4 separate regions of the Homo sapiens genome follow, and all the other regions are linked to region 1. Evidence: promoter capture Hi-C in 16 types of primary human blood cells and fetal thymus (Javierre and others, 2016). All regions are on one chromosome and are shown on one strand. Each heading gives the region's core, a stretch centred on a gene start or on the middle of the fragment in contact. The rest is flanking DNA. Distances are from core to core; before and after follow the strand shown.

What was found. The method cuts DNA at HindIII sites, captures the fragments that hold promoters and counts their contacts. A CHiCAGO score of 5 or more calls a contact.
Region 2: a fragment that was not itself captured here is called in contact with the fragment with the promoter of CDH26 in region 1 in 1 of 17 cell types (neutrophils); the score reaches 6.6 in neutrophils.
Region 3: a fragment that was not itself captured here is called in contact with the fragment with the promoter of CDH26 in region 1 in 1 of 17 cell types (neutrophils); the score reaches 5.5 in neutrophils.
Region 4: a fragment that was not itself captured here is called in contact with the fragment with the promoter of CDH26 in region 1 in 1 of 17 cell types (monocytes); the score reaches 5.3 in monocytes.

The regions. Positions count from the first base shown.
Region 1 is chr20:59,956,865-59,959,832 of GRCh38, forward strand. It overlaps CDH26 (cadherin 26), which reads left to right and starts at 1,559. Exons shown (of 18, transcript NM_177980.4): 1 at 1,559-1,931. The coding sequence starts at 1,863. The HindIII fragment of the contact is 452 bases long and covers 1,198-1,649 here.
Region 2 is chr20:60,281,458-60,284,425 of GRCh38, forward strand. The region is part of intron 3 of MIR646HG (MIR646 host gene); the gene reads left to right. The region is part of intron 1 of LOC105372698 (a long non-coding RNA gene); the gene reads left to right. Among named protein-coding and RNA genes, the nearest start is that of MIR646, 26 kb to the right of the region's middle. The HindIII fragment of the contact is 6,357 bases long and covers 1-2,968 here.
Region 3 is chr20:60,238,789-60,241,756 of GRCh38, forward strand. The region is part of intron 3 of MIR646HG (MIR646 host gene); the gene reads left to right. Among named protein-coding and RNA genes, the nearest start is that of MIR646, 68 kb to the right of the region's middle. The HindIII fragment of the contact is 5,944 bases long and covers 1-2,968 here.
Region 4 is chr20:60,218,648-60,221,615 of GRCh38, forward strand. The region is part of intron 3 of MIR646HG (MIR646 host gene); the gene reads left to right. Among named protein-coding and RNA genes, the nearest start is that of MIR646HG, 82 kb to the left of the region's middle. The HindIII fragment of the contact is 5,114 bases long and covers 1-2,968 here.

The DNA.
Region 1 (2,968 bases), core at 309-2,808:
TATACATATATGTGTGTATATATGTATGTATATATGTGTATATATGTACATACACATATATACACATATATGTGTATATATACATATATGCGTGTATATATGTACATACACATATATACACACATATATGTGTATATATGTACATACACATATATACACGCATATATGTGTATATATACATATAGATACGCATATACACATTTTCTTTATCCACTAGTTGATTGATGGGCATTTGGGTTGGTTCCACGATTTTGCAATTGTGAATTTTGCTGCTATAAACGTGCATGTGCAAGTATCTTTTTCGAATAATGACTTCTTTTCCTCTGGGAAGATACCCAGTAGTGGGATTGCTGGATCAAATGGTAGTTCTACTTTTGTTCTTTAAGGAATCTCCACACTGTTTTCCATAGCAGCTGTACTATGTTATATTCCCCCCAGCAGTGTAGAAGTGTTCCCTGATTGTCACATCCACACCAACGTCTACTGTTTTTTGATTTTTTGATTATGGTCATTCTTGCAGGAGTAAGGTGGTATCGCACTGCGGTTTTGATTTGCGTTTTGCTGATCATTGGTGATGTTGAGCATTTTTTCATATGCTTGTTGACCATTTGTATATCTTCTTTTGAGAATTGTCTATTCATGTCCTTATCCCACTTTTTGATGGGATTGTTTTTTTCTTACTGATTTGTTGGAGTTCATTGTGGATTCTGGATATTAATCCTTTGTCAGATGTATAGATTGTGAAGATTTTCTCCCACTCTGTGGGTTGTCTGTTTACTCTGCTGACTGTTCCTTTTGCAGTGCAAAAGCTCTTTAGTTTAATTAGGTCCCAGCTATTTATCTTTGATTTTATTGCATTTGCTTTTTGGTTCTTGGTCATGAAATCCTTGCCTAAGCCAATATCTAGAACAAGCAAAGAAAGTTTACCTTTTATTTTATCTGTTTACTACTTTAAACAAGGTAATGTGATAAAAAGGTCATGTTAAGGTAATCAGGGTTAATGTATCACAGATTGTGTTTTAAAACTTGCTTACTGCAACCTTAAGTATTGGTATAATATAATCTCAAATTGTCTCTTTCAGAATTCTCATGCAAAGACTCCCGGGTTGCCACAGAGATCCCTGTCCATAGGGAGGCTCTTTCCCATCTCTCCTCCCTCCCACTTTAATTCCAAACTCAAAAAGGCAGATTAATCTAAGCTTAAAAAAGGTTTTAGTAGAAATAATTTGAAAACCCCAGAGCCCTGGGATATTGTTGGAATAACGATTTTTAGTGCTTTGGAAAGTAAAAGTTGATTTTTCTTTTCTTTCATTCTTCCCCATCCCTTCCCCCTTAATAAAGTTATCATTCTTGTCATTTTCTAGTTTTTTTTGTTTGGTTCAAGAGGATAAGATTATAGAAAATAGTCACTAACATATCCTGCTATAGAAAGAGATGATTGGACCTTCTATTTGGAAACCAGAACAAACAAGGAAACAAAGAAACAAATAATTCTGCTTTCCGATAGGTGCTGGTTTTACTTCCGCTGGCTGAGCTGTTGTTCCTGAGGTCAGACCCCAGCCAGTCTTTTGTGTACGTGCAGGACCATGGTGGCTTTAGTTTCTACCCCACCCTTCCTAGGAACTCTACTTGTGGCAAACGTATGTTCAAGCTTACAAGTCAGCCCACCCCACTCTGATAAATGCAAGAAAAGCTGAAAAGGGAGGAGCAAGATGGGATGAAAGCATCTGGGCCAAAGTGACCTGAAAACCTTTAGAGAAGAAGCTGCTGGCTGAGAAGGAGGTGTGTGGCTCCGGTGAGACCACCAGCTTGGAGGACTGGTCATCAGCTGCACGTTCTGGGTCTGTCTTGGGTATTCCCATATGGCCATGAGATCCGGGAGGCACCCCTCGCTGCTGCTGCTTCTAGTGCTGCTGCTGTGGCTGCTGCAGGTAAGCTGAGCCTGCAGCCTAGTGCTCAGGTGCAGGGAACTGAAAGCAAAGCACAAGCTGGCCCTGCCCCTTCTAGGCTAAGGGAGGGGAGAGGGACTGAGTGTGACCTGCTGGGACCCAGGGCTGGCTGTCTTGAGAATGGCTTAGGTAGCAGGGGCTCTGGATTTATATAAAGGGAAGTTAAGGGTCCCAGTCTGTTTGGGGCAACAGTGGGAGCAGGCTAAGGGACCTGTTTAAAACTAATTTATATAGTTCACACTATTTTTAGTGAGATTACATCAACACACACGTGTTTTCTTTCTTTGTTTCTTTCTCCTTTTGTTGAGACAGGGTCTGGCTTCATCATCCAGGCTGGAGTGCAGTGGCATGATCAAGGCTCACTGCAGCTTTAACCTCCCAGGCTCAGGTGATCCTTCCACCTCAGCCTCAAGAGTAGCTGGGACTACAGTAACTTACCACCACGCTGGCTAATTTCTGTATTTTTTATAGAGATGGATTTTCACCATGTTGCCCAGGCTGGTCTCGAACTCCTAAGCTCAAGTGATTTATTCGCCTTGCCCTTCCGAAGTGTTGGGTTTACAGGCATGAGCCACCTCACCCAGCCAACACACACAATTTTTTTTTTTTTTTGAGACAGGGTCTCGTCATCCAGGCTACAGTGCGTGGTGACATCTCAGTGCACCGCAACCTCCTCCTACTGGGTTCAAGCAACCTCCTGGCTCAGCCTCCCGAGTACTGGGACTACAGGTGCACGCCACCATGCCCGGCTAGTTTTTGTATTTTTATTAGAGACAGGGTTTCACCATGTTGGCCAGGCTGGTCTCAAACTCCTGACCTCAAGTGATCTGCCTGCCTCAGCCTCCCAAAGTGTTAGGATGACAGGCTTGAGACACTGCGCCCTGCCAAGTTTTATAATGATACTTCTGTTCACACTTTACATAAGATTGAGGAAATCTCAGTTGTCTGGATCCAAGGCAATTTGAGCAAACCCATGGGGATGGAATGGCTAAATCCATTGCCCCCAACTGCCACTGTTT
Region 2 (2,968 bases), core at 231-2,730, 320 kb after region 1:
GTCAGTAAAAACCCCATCTGGCTCTCACATCACAAAAGACTGTATACGCCTTGAAACTTAATCTGTGCTGAGCTGAGCACATGCTGCTAAATCACAGGCCCCCGAAGAGTCAAGGTGACATGGCAGGCAGAGGGAAGACCAGCCGTCAGAACCCTCAGCACCACGGGGCTACATTTCACCTTTAGTTGGGAGGAAACTGAAGGCATGCTTTCTGGTTTATCTGGATGTTCAGAGGAAATGAGGGAGGTCTGGAAACACACATTGAGACCAACCCTGTGCCAGGCACTGTGTAAGAAGCACTTCCCCCGGAAGGCATTATTGCCCAGCAATTTACACTTCATTTCTGTTTGATTTAGTTGATGACCCTGTGAAATAGACCACAAGTCACAGATTCACTGTCTAAGAATCTGCAGGCCTTGTAAGCCCCCAAAATGCTTCATGGGACAATGTTAGTCACATGTCGAACTGGCGCTCCCAACTTCAGAACCTCCCTGTGCCTTTCCTGACCTCATAAAAGATTTCCAGGGGAGAGAAAACCCCAGGCAGGACAAGAAGTTTGTGGAAGCCTGGATTCCAGAATAGAGATAAATCTGATGTCAAAAAAGGTGTTTTAAATTTTTTTCAGTGAGCAGGTGGGTAGGTGGGTACAGACATGCCCTTACTTTCTGAGTAAATGCTTTTTGAGAATCTGTGATGCCTGATTCCTGAGCTGAACATTAGAGAAACAGTGCTGGTCTACATAAGGGGAAATATATTTCTAAAAGTGTGGAATCGTTCTCATTTATAAAATGCTTATATTTGATAGTTCAGGATTTTTGCTTTTTAGGGTTTCACTAAAATTTAAGGTTACCAAGGATTAGAATTCTAGTTAGCACATAATTCTATATTCAAAATGTGCCAAAAGATGTGTTATTAGTGAGAGAAAAAATAATTTTGTGTAATTTAGAAGTTATCTGAAAGTTAATTCAAATTATGGACTTTATTTTATTTTATTTATTTATTTATTTTTTTTAAAATTATTATTATACTTTAAGTTTTAGGGTACATGTGCACAATGCGCCGGTTAGTTACATATGTATACATGTGCCATGCTGGTGTGCTGCACCCATTAACTCGTCATTTAGCATTAGGTACATCTCTTAATGCTATCTCTCCCCCCTCCCCCCACCCCACAACAGTCCCCAGAGTGTGATGTTCCCCTTCCCGTGTCCATGTGTTCTCATTGTTCAATTCCCATCTATGAATGAGAACATGCGGTGTTTGGCTTTTAGTCCTTGCGATAGTTTACTGAGAATGATGATTTCCAATTTCATCCATGTCCCTACAAAGGACATGAACTCATCATTTTTTATGGCTGCATAGTATTCCATGGTGTATATGTGCCACATTTTCTTAATCCAGTCTATCAATCATTGTTGGACATTTGGGTTGGTTCCAAGTCTTTGCTATTGTGAATAGTGCCGCAATAAACATACATGTGCATGTGTCTTTATAGCAGCATGATTTATAGTCCTCTGGGTATATACCCAGTAATGGGATGGCTGGGTCAAATGGTATTTCTAGTTCTAGATCCCTGAGGAATCGCCACACTGACTTCCACAATGGTTGAACTAGTTTACAGTCCCACCAACAGTGTAAAAGTGTTCCTATTTCTCCACATCCTCTCCAGCACCTGTTGTTTCCTGACTTTTTAATGATTGCCATTCTAACTGGTGTGAGATGGTATCTCATTGTGGTTTTGATTTGCATTTCTCCGATGGCCAGTGATGATGAGCATTTTTTCATGTGTCTTTTGGCTGCAAATTATGGACTTTAAAAAGGGGTTATTTATTAAAAAAGGTAGGAAGGAACCAGTAAATAGGGGAGAGAGATGTGAAGAACATTATGTGTATGAAGATGTGTTTTTGGTAGGAAAGGTTGTAGAGACAATAACTTTGTATGAGAAAGGATCTTGTATGGTAAATGCTTGTCCTAAAGTAAAATGCCTGGTTGTTTAAAACAAGGGATGTTTAGGACAAGTCAGAGAGTCCAAGCATGTCATAGATGGTCTGTGTAAGTCATGAAGAGGACTTGTGTAGGAAAAGTAGAATATACATTTGATAAAAGTCATGAGAATGTGGATTTTTGCCTAAGTTTTGTTAAAGGATTGTTTTAAGTGAGATAGGAAAAATCTAGAGGCTTGAACAAGTTGTGTAAGGTTTATTAAAAATTAATTATAAAAGAGATTCTGTGTGTGAACATATTGGCTAAAGTTAAAAAGGAAAACTGGTAATTATACTTCACCCATATGCTAGCTTGCAAAGGATACAAGTTTTTGCTAGTACTAGTAGACACCTTTATTATTTATTGGCTGGGTTGAAACTTACCTTACCGGAACAGAGAAGGCTAATGAAGTTATAAAGATTCTCTTAAAGGAAATAATCCCTCAGTATGGGGTACCCTAAAGCTGCCAAAGTGATAACAGCCTGTCTTTTGTCTCCTAGAAAGCTCAAGGGGTTGCTAAGGCTCTCGGAATCAAATACCATTTACATTCATCATGGAGACCTCAATCCTCCAGAAAAGTGGAAAGAGCTAATCAAACTCTAAAACAGGTTTTAGCTAAGCTATGTCAGGAAACATCACAAACTTGGGTCAGCTTATCTGCCCATAGCCCTCTTAAGGATCCATAGTTCCCCTAGAGCAAAAATTAATATGAACCTACATGAAATGTTATATGGAAGGCCATATTAAACTAATGATTTATTACTGATCCAGAAATGGCCAGGCTAATAAAATACTTAGTTAGCCTAGGACAATTTCAGCAGGCTATACAAAAGTTTGGAACTCAAAGACTGCCGACACCAGGAACTAACCAGCAACCCAAAATCAGGCCAGGAGATAATGTACTTGTTGAAACATGGAAGGAGGGATCACCTGCTCAAAAATTGCAAACCAAATGGAAGGGACCATTTTCAGTGGGACTGGTCAT
Region 3 (2,968 bases), core at 262-2,761, 280 kb after region 1:
CTATGCTAAGGTCTGAATGTTTGCATTCCCCGAAAAATTGCATGTTGAAACCTACCCGCCAATGTGATGGTATTTGGTGGTGGGGCCTCTGGGAGGTGATTAGGAATTAGTGCCTTCTTAAAAGAGGTCCCAGATAGCCCCCTTGTACCTGCCACCATGTGAGGTTACAGAGAGGAGGCAAGTCTGTGAGCCAGAAGCCAGGGCCCTCACCAGACGCTGCTTCTGCCACAGCTCTGATAGTGCGTGGCCAGCTTGCAGCCTGGGAGAAATGACTTTCTGTTGGTTATGAGCCACCCAGGCTATGGTGCAGCCTGGGTGGACAACGATGATTCTGCACTGCTCTGCCCTTCCTCTCTATCAATCCTCCCCACATCCTCTCTGCTCCAGACGTGCCTGGCCTCTCTGTCTTCCTCCAGGACTCCAGGCACACGCCACTCCGCCCCTGCATGACCACAAGGCCCCACCTCTCCCTTTCTTCTTGATTTTGTTTTAATACCAACTCATTGCCGAGGCTGTTGCTGGACATTTAACATGGTTTTACCCCACCTGGGGACTCTGTCTCTCCTGTGCGCAGTTGTATTTGATCCCCAGCCTTTGTTACCATACAGCGTGCTGGTGGTGCTTTGATTCAGTGGCGCTGTCTGTTTCCTGTGTGAGCAGGGGCTTTGCCTGCTTTGACAGCATCTTCAGCACCTGGAACAGTGCCTGGTGCACAGTGGGTGCTCACTAAATATTCAGAGGGTGAGTCTTACAGGAATGAACAAAAATATATTGGGAATTGGCCAGTAAGGGTTGCAAAGGCAAATGTGGTGAACTATGGCTCCGGCTTGCCTGGGACTGAGGCATTTCCAAGGATGCAGGACTTCAAATGTTAAACCCAGGAAAGTCTCAGGCAAACCAGGACAAGTGGGTCGCCCTAATGAGAACCCCCAAATGTCCTCAGAGAAATCAGGGTGCTGTAGCAATGACAGCGGGGTCTGGAGGGAAAGCCTGAGGGTGGTTGTCCCGTCTTGCATTTGGTCTGGACAGATCTAGGCTTCAATTCATAGCCACCTGCATCCTTGCCACGACTTAAGGCTGATCACACAGCCCAGCATCACAGTCTAACAATGAAGGATGTGGCAGGTTGTTGTCTTGGAGGAAGGACCTGATTTCCAATTTATCTGAGCTGCTTGGAGCCCATGCTGCTTTACAGCATTGTTCAGAACTGACGAGGACTCTGTCAACTCTCTTTTCTCTCTCTTCCTAAGCACTCTGCAGTGATATCTTCAAGCCCCTGGCTTCGCAGGGTGCAGCACACATCACAGACTCCTAACAAAATGCAAAACACAGAGCAGGCATGGCAGCTACACGAAAGGAGCGCCTCGTTCGAGGACTGCCCACCATGCGGGGCTGCAGTCACAGCACCGCCCCTGCTCTCTGAACCTGGCAGCAGCAAGAAAACATGACGTCCTGTCCTGGCTCACCTCTGATCAGAGTTGGGGGGATCTGACCGAGTCCTCTTGTTCTGTTGGGCAGAGACGTAGGGAACAAACCTAAGTAAACTTGAATGGAAACTGCGAAACTGCAGAGAGATGACATGTGCAAAGCAAGCCTCTTGAAGACTTGTGAGCAGGGAAGACCCTGGCACCTTTTTGAACTGCTTGGCTTAGGAAGATTTGCTTTGCCACAGCTTCTGTCAGAGCAGAGCAGGCTCCTGTATTGCCTGCTGGACCTGTGCCTTTTGGGCCGTGCAATTTGGTTCCACAATCCAGAGGCAGATTTTCAGACCATGCAATAAAACAAAGCGACATCATCAATGCCAAGCCCTGGTCTGCCCTGAGCCATGGCAGCGTTTCCGCTGAGCGAGCTGCCTTCCAAGGAGGATGCTCTCTGCTGTGCAGTGCTTACATCTGCTGTCACCAGCCGGCTCAGGGGTGACAACCAGTCACACTCCAGTGACTTCCTCCCATGTCCCTCCAAACATCTTTGGAGTGAAAGGGAGTCTCCAATTATATGCTTTCTTTTTCCTTTCCAAACCAAGACGATGTTCAGTAATTAATGGCATATTTTGAATATGCCAGGGAGATGTGCATTTTTCTCCAAGGAAGAGTGAAACAGCAGCACATGTAAATACAAACCTGAAGCCGGGGCTCCTTCCACACCAGCAGTCGGTAGACTTGCCATAAAGGAGTGGAGATTATTTTGCCCTGCTGAGAACGATCCTTTTTGTTCAAGGGGGAGAAAAGTTTTTGACAGTAGGTGCTGCTGCAGAGGCATCTCGGCAAGTCCTTTATTAAAATTTATTTCTCGTCTTTTATTAACGAGATTTGGTTCGGGGAGACTATCTTGTGGAATAATTAAACCCCTGCCTTTCAAGCCAGTTTTCAGCAGTGGGCTGGGATTTGGCGATGGGTGACTCAGCAGCAAAGAGGACAGGAAACAGTCAAGAGACAAACAGTGCAGATGTGTGCCGGGGTCCACATTTCCCCTGTGGGTGGTCCCTGCCCCAGCATCTCTACGTTGTCCCAGCTAAGAATATGGTCTTTGGAGTCCTACTAATGTGGATTTAAATCTGATCTCCACCCCTTCCTCCTGTGTGACCTTGAGAAAGCCTCAGTTTTTCCATCTGTAAAATGAAGAAATTGTTACGGGGGAATCAAATGAGATAATCCTTGCAGAATCCAGCACACAGCCACCTACACATGGTAAGTCTCAGCGCAGACATCCTTTCAAGTTGTGTTGCTGATAGATAAAGTCTCTCTGAGATCCGCCGATCTGCAGTCTTCTGAGGCCATGGCTTGACCATGCTGCCCTTCTACTGTAGAATGAATGTTTTCCTGCAGATCCAAGCTCTCACTATGTTTAATCAAATTTAACCCATAGAATATTCACAGCAACATTATTCATAATAATGCAAAAGTGGAAACAACCCAAACACACATGAACTGATGAATGGATAAACAAAATGTAGTATATCCGTACTTAC
Region 4 (2,968 bases), core at 138-2,637, 260 kb after region 1:
TGGACTTTTTTTTTTTTTTTTGCTATTGAGTTGACTTCCTTATTAGATATTTTGGATATTAGCTTCTTATCAGATACATAGTTTGCAAATATTTTCTCACATGCATAGGCTGTCTCTCCATTCTGTTGATCGTTTCTTTTGTTGTACAGAGCTTTTTAGTTGGATGTAATCCCATTTGCCTGCCTTTGGTTTTGTTTCCTGTGCTGTGAGCTCTAATCCAAAAAAATCCTTGCTCAGGCCAATGTCATCAAGCATTTCGTGGATGTTTTCTTCTAGTAGTCTATGGTTTTGGGTCTTACAACACCTAAATCTTTAATCCATTTTGGGTGATTTTTGTATAGGGTGACAGATAGGGGTCCAATTTCATGCTGCATGTGACTAGCCAGTTTTTCTGGTACCGTGTATTAAAGAGACTGTTCTTTCCCCAGTGGGTGTTCTCAGTACCTTTTTGAAAGGCCACTTAGCTCTGAGCGCATGGAGTTATTTCTGTGTTCTCTGCCCTGTTCCACCGGTGTATGTGTGTGTTTTTACTCCTCGGTCTTCAAGATTGTTGAGAGTTTGGAGCCTGGGTGCACCAGCTTCTTTGTATCTCACTGTCTTCCTCCCCAAACCCAGTGCCCAGCATATAGCCTGGCATGCATGAAAGGCTCAGCCAATTGTTTGGGTTTGATATACATGTTAATATTGGGAGATTGCTGCATACACTTAAGTGCCGATGTTTCAAGCTGGGGAGGCAGAAGTCTGGGGAAAACAACAGGTTGGAACTTCATTGCGACTCGGAACATGTCTGGCTGGCATATGAATCCATCTGCCATGACGGCTTGGATAAAAATAGTCCACATTGGAGGCTTCATTCTATTTGAATGTACAGATTAACCAGTACTATGACAACTATTTTCAGAAAGCAGCTTGCTGAAACTTTGTAATGATGTGTTTAGGCTTCACAGCTTCAAAACATGATCTTCTAGGTGAAAGATGGTAAATAGCTTCAAAGAAAGGTATTCCCCTCCCTTTCCTGCCCTTGGAAAACATAACTATATGATGAATAAAAATGACTCTGGACCTGTCCATACCACCCATGAAATGTTCCACTTCTTGAGTATTTTATGTAACCGTGTCAGCCTGGCACAGTGCATTAACACCAAGAGTTTCTTGTGATGTTTTCTGGCTGATAATATTTTCCTTACAAGTTCCCTATGAAATCTAAAGCAATAACAACAAAACAGGGCACTTCTACGCTCTTAAAAATGTCATTGTCCTATTTTTTAATTAGGCAGGATGTCCCTGATTTCCCAGGGGAGTCGATGGGACGCAGTGTTTTACAGCTTATCATTTGGACACCTTAAGTCTGAAGATTGGGTCCAGGTAACAGGGCCAACAAGAAACTCCTGCACCAGGGAGGTCAGGGACACAGGCCAGGAACGCTGGCTCAGGCATGGTGGCTGCAGCTCCTTGGTCACAGGATCTTGGGCATCCATCTCTGGCCAGTTTCCCCATCAGTAAAACACGAATGCTGGACCAGATAAGGGTTTCCCAACTCAGCACTACTGACGACTTGGGAAGGATGACTCTTTGTTGAGAGGGGCTGTCCTGTGCCAATTAAGATGTTTAGCAACACTCCTAACCACTACTACCCACTAGATGCTAGTAGCAACCCCCAGTTGGGATAACCGAAAATGTCTTCAACATTGCCAAATGCCCCTGGAAGGAGAGGGAAAAATGACCTGCGGTTGATGACCTCCTCGCTGTGGCTGACGTGCTTTGGTGATGCATATGGAGGAGATGATTCAGAGTGTTCACACTGTGCGTTTCCACTTCTTATGGCTCCTAATTACTCCCAGTGGCTCTGGAGTGGCTCCCCACCCTATGTGCACGTTCCTTCTGAAAGCCTGGGACAAACTTTACAGTTTTATATGTTTACTCAACTTTACAGTTTTATATGTTTTGTTCACGTATAACTCACATGCAGAAAAGTGCACGTCAAAAGTTTACATCTCAACGACTTTTCACAAAGTGAGCAATCCATGTGGATGTAGCCAGCACCTAAGCCAAGCTGCAGGACGGGAGCCACGCCCTCTCCTTCTTCTCCTCTTCCCCCTAGTTAGCCACTATCCTGACTTTGGAACCGTAGATTAGTTTTGTCTGGTTTGTTGAACTTGATACAATGGAGTCATCCTGTATGTGCTATTTATGTGCCTGGCTTCTTTCACTGTACATTACGTTCGTGAGATTCATTCATGCTCTGTGCACTTGCAGCCCATTCACTCTCAGCGTGGATGGTATTCATTATCTGACTGTGCGGCCACTGAATCTTCCATGCCACTGGGGAGGGGCCTTCGGGGCATCTACAGGCTGGGGATTATAAATTGCACTGCTGAGAACATTTGTGTGCATGTCTTTTCATGAATATGTGAATGCATTTCTGTTGAGTATATACTGAAGAGTGGAGTTGACAGGTCACAGGGCATGTACATATTCAGTTTTAGGGGCTGCCAGATACTTCTGGAAATTAATAAGAAAAAGACTGAAAACCCTATAGAAAAATCAGTAAAAGAGTTGAACGGTCACATCGCGAAAGAAGATGCTCAGTTGTCCAATAAACATGGAATGGTGGTGCTTAACCACTTTAGTCATCTAGGAAATACACATCAAAACCAGGCCATACTACTGCATCTCCATCAGTGGCTATAAAGAAGGACAAGTTGAAAAGGACATGGAGCAACCAGAAGTTCTGTATGCTGATGGTGGGAGTGGAAATCAGTGCAACCACTTTGGAAAACTGGCAATATCTTCTTTGAGGTTTGTAAGCCACAGAAAGGCACAGGTAAAAACGAACATTTATGATTTGGAACAACTAGGTTTTATATAAGATACAAAAATTAAACAAAGGATTTGTGCATTGCAAAAAGCTACAAGGAGGTCCAAAGCAGGAAGTTATGCAAAACATAGCATTTGCCCCTGACTGGGA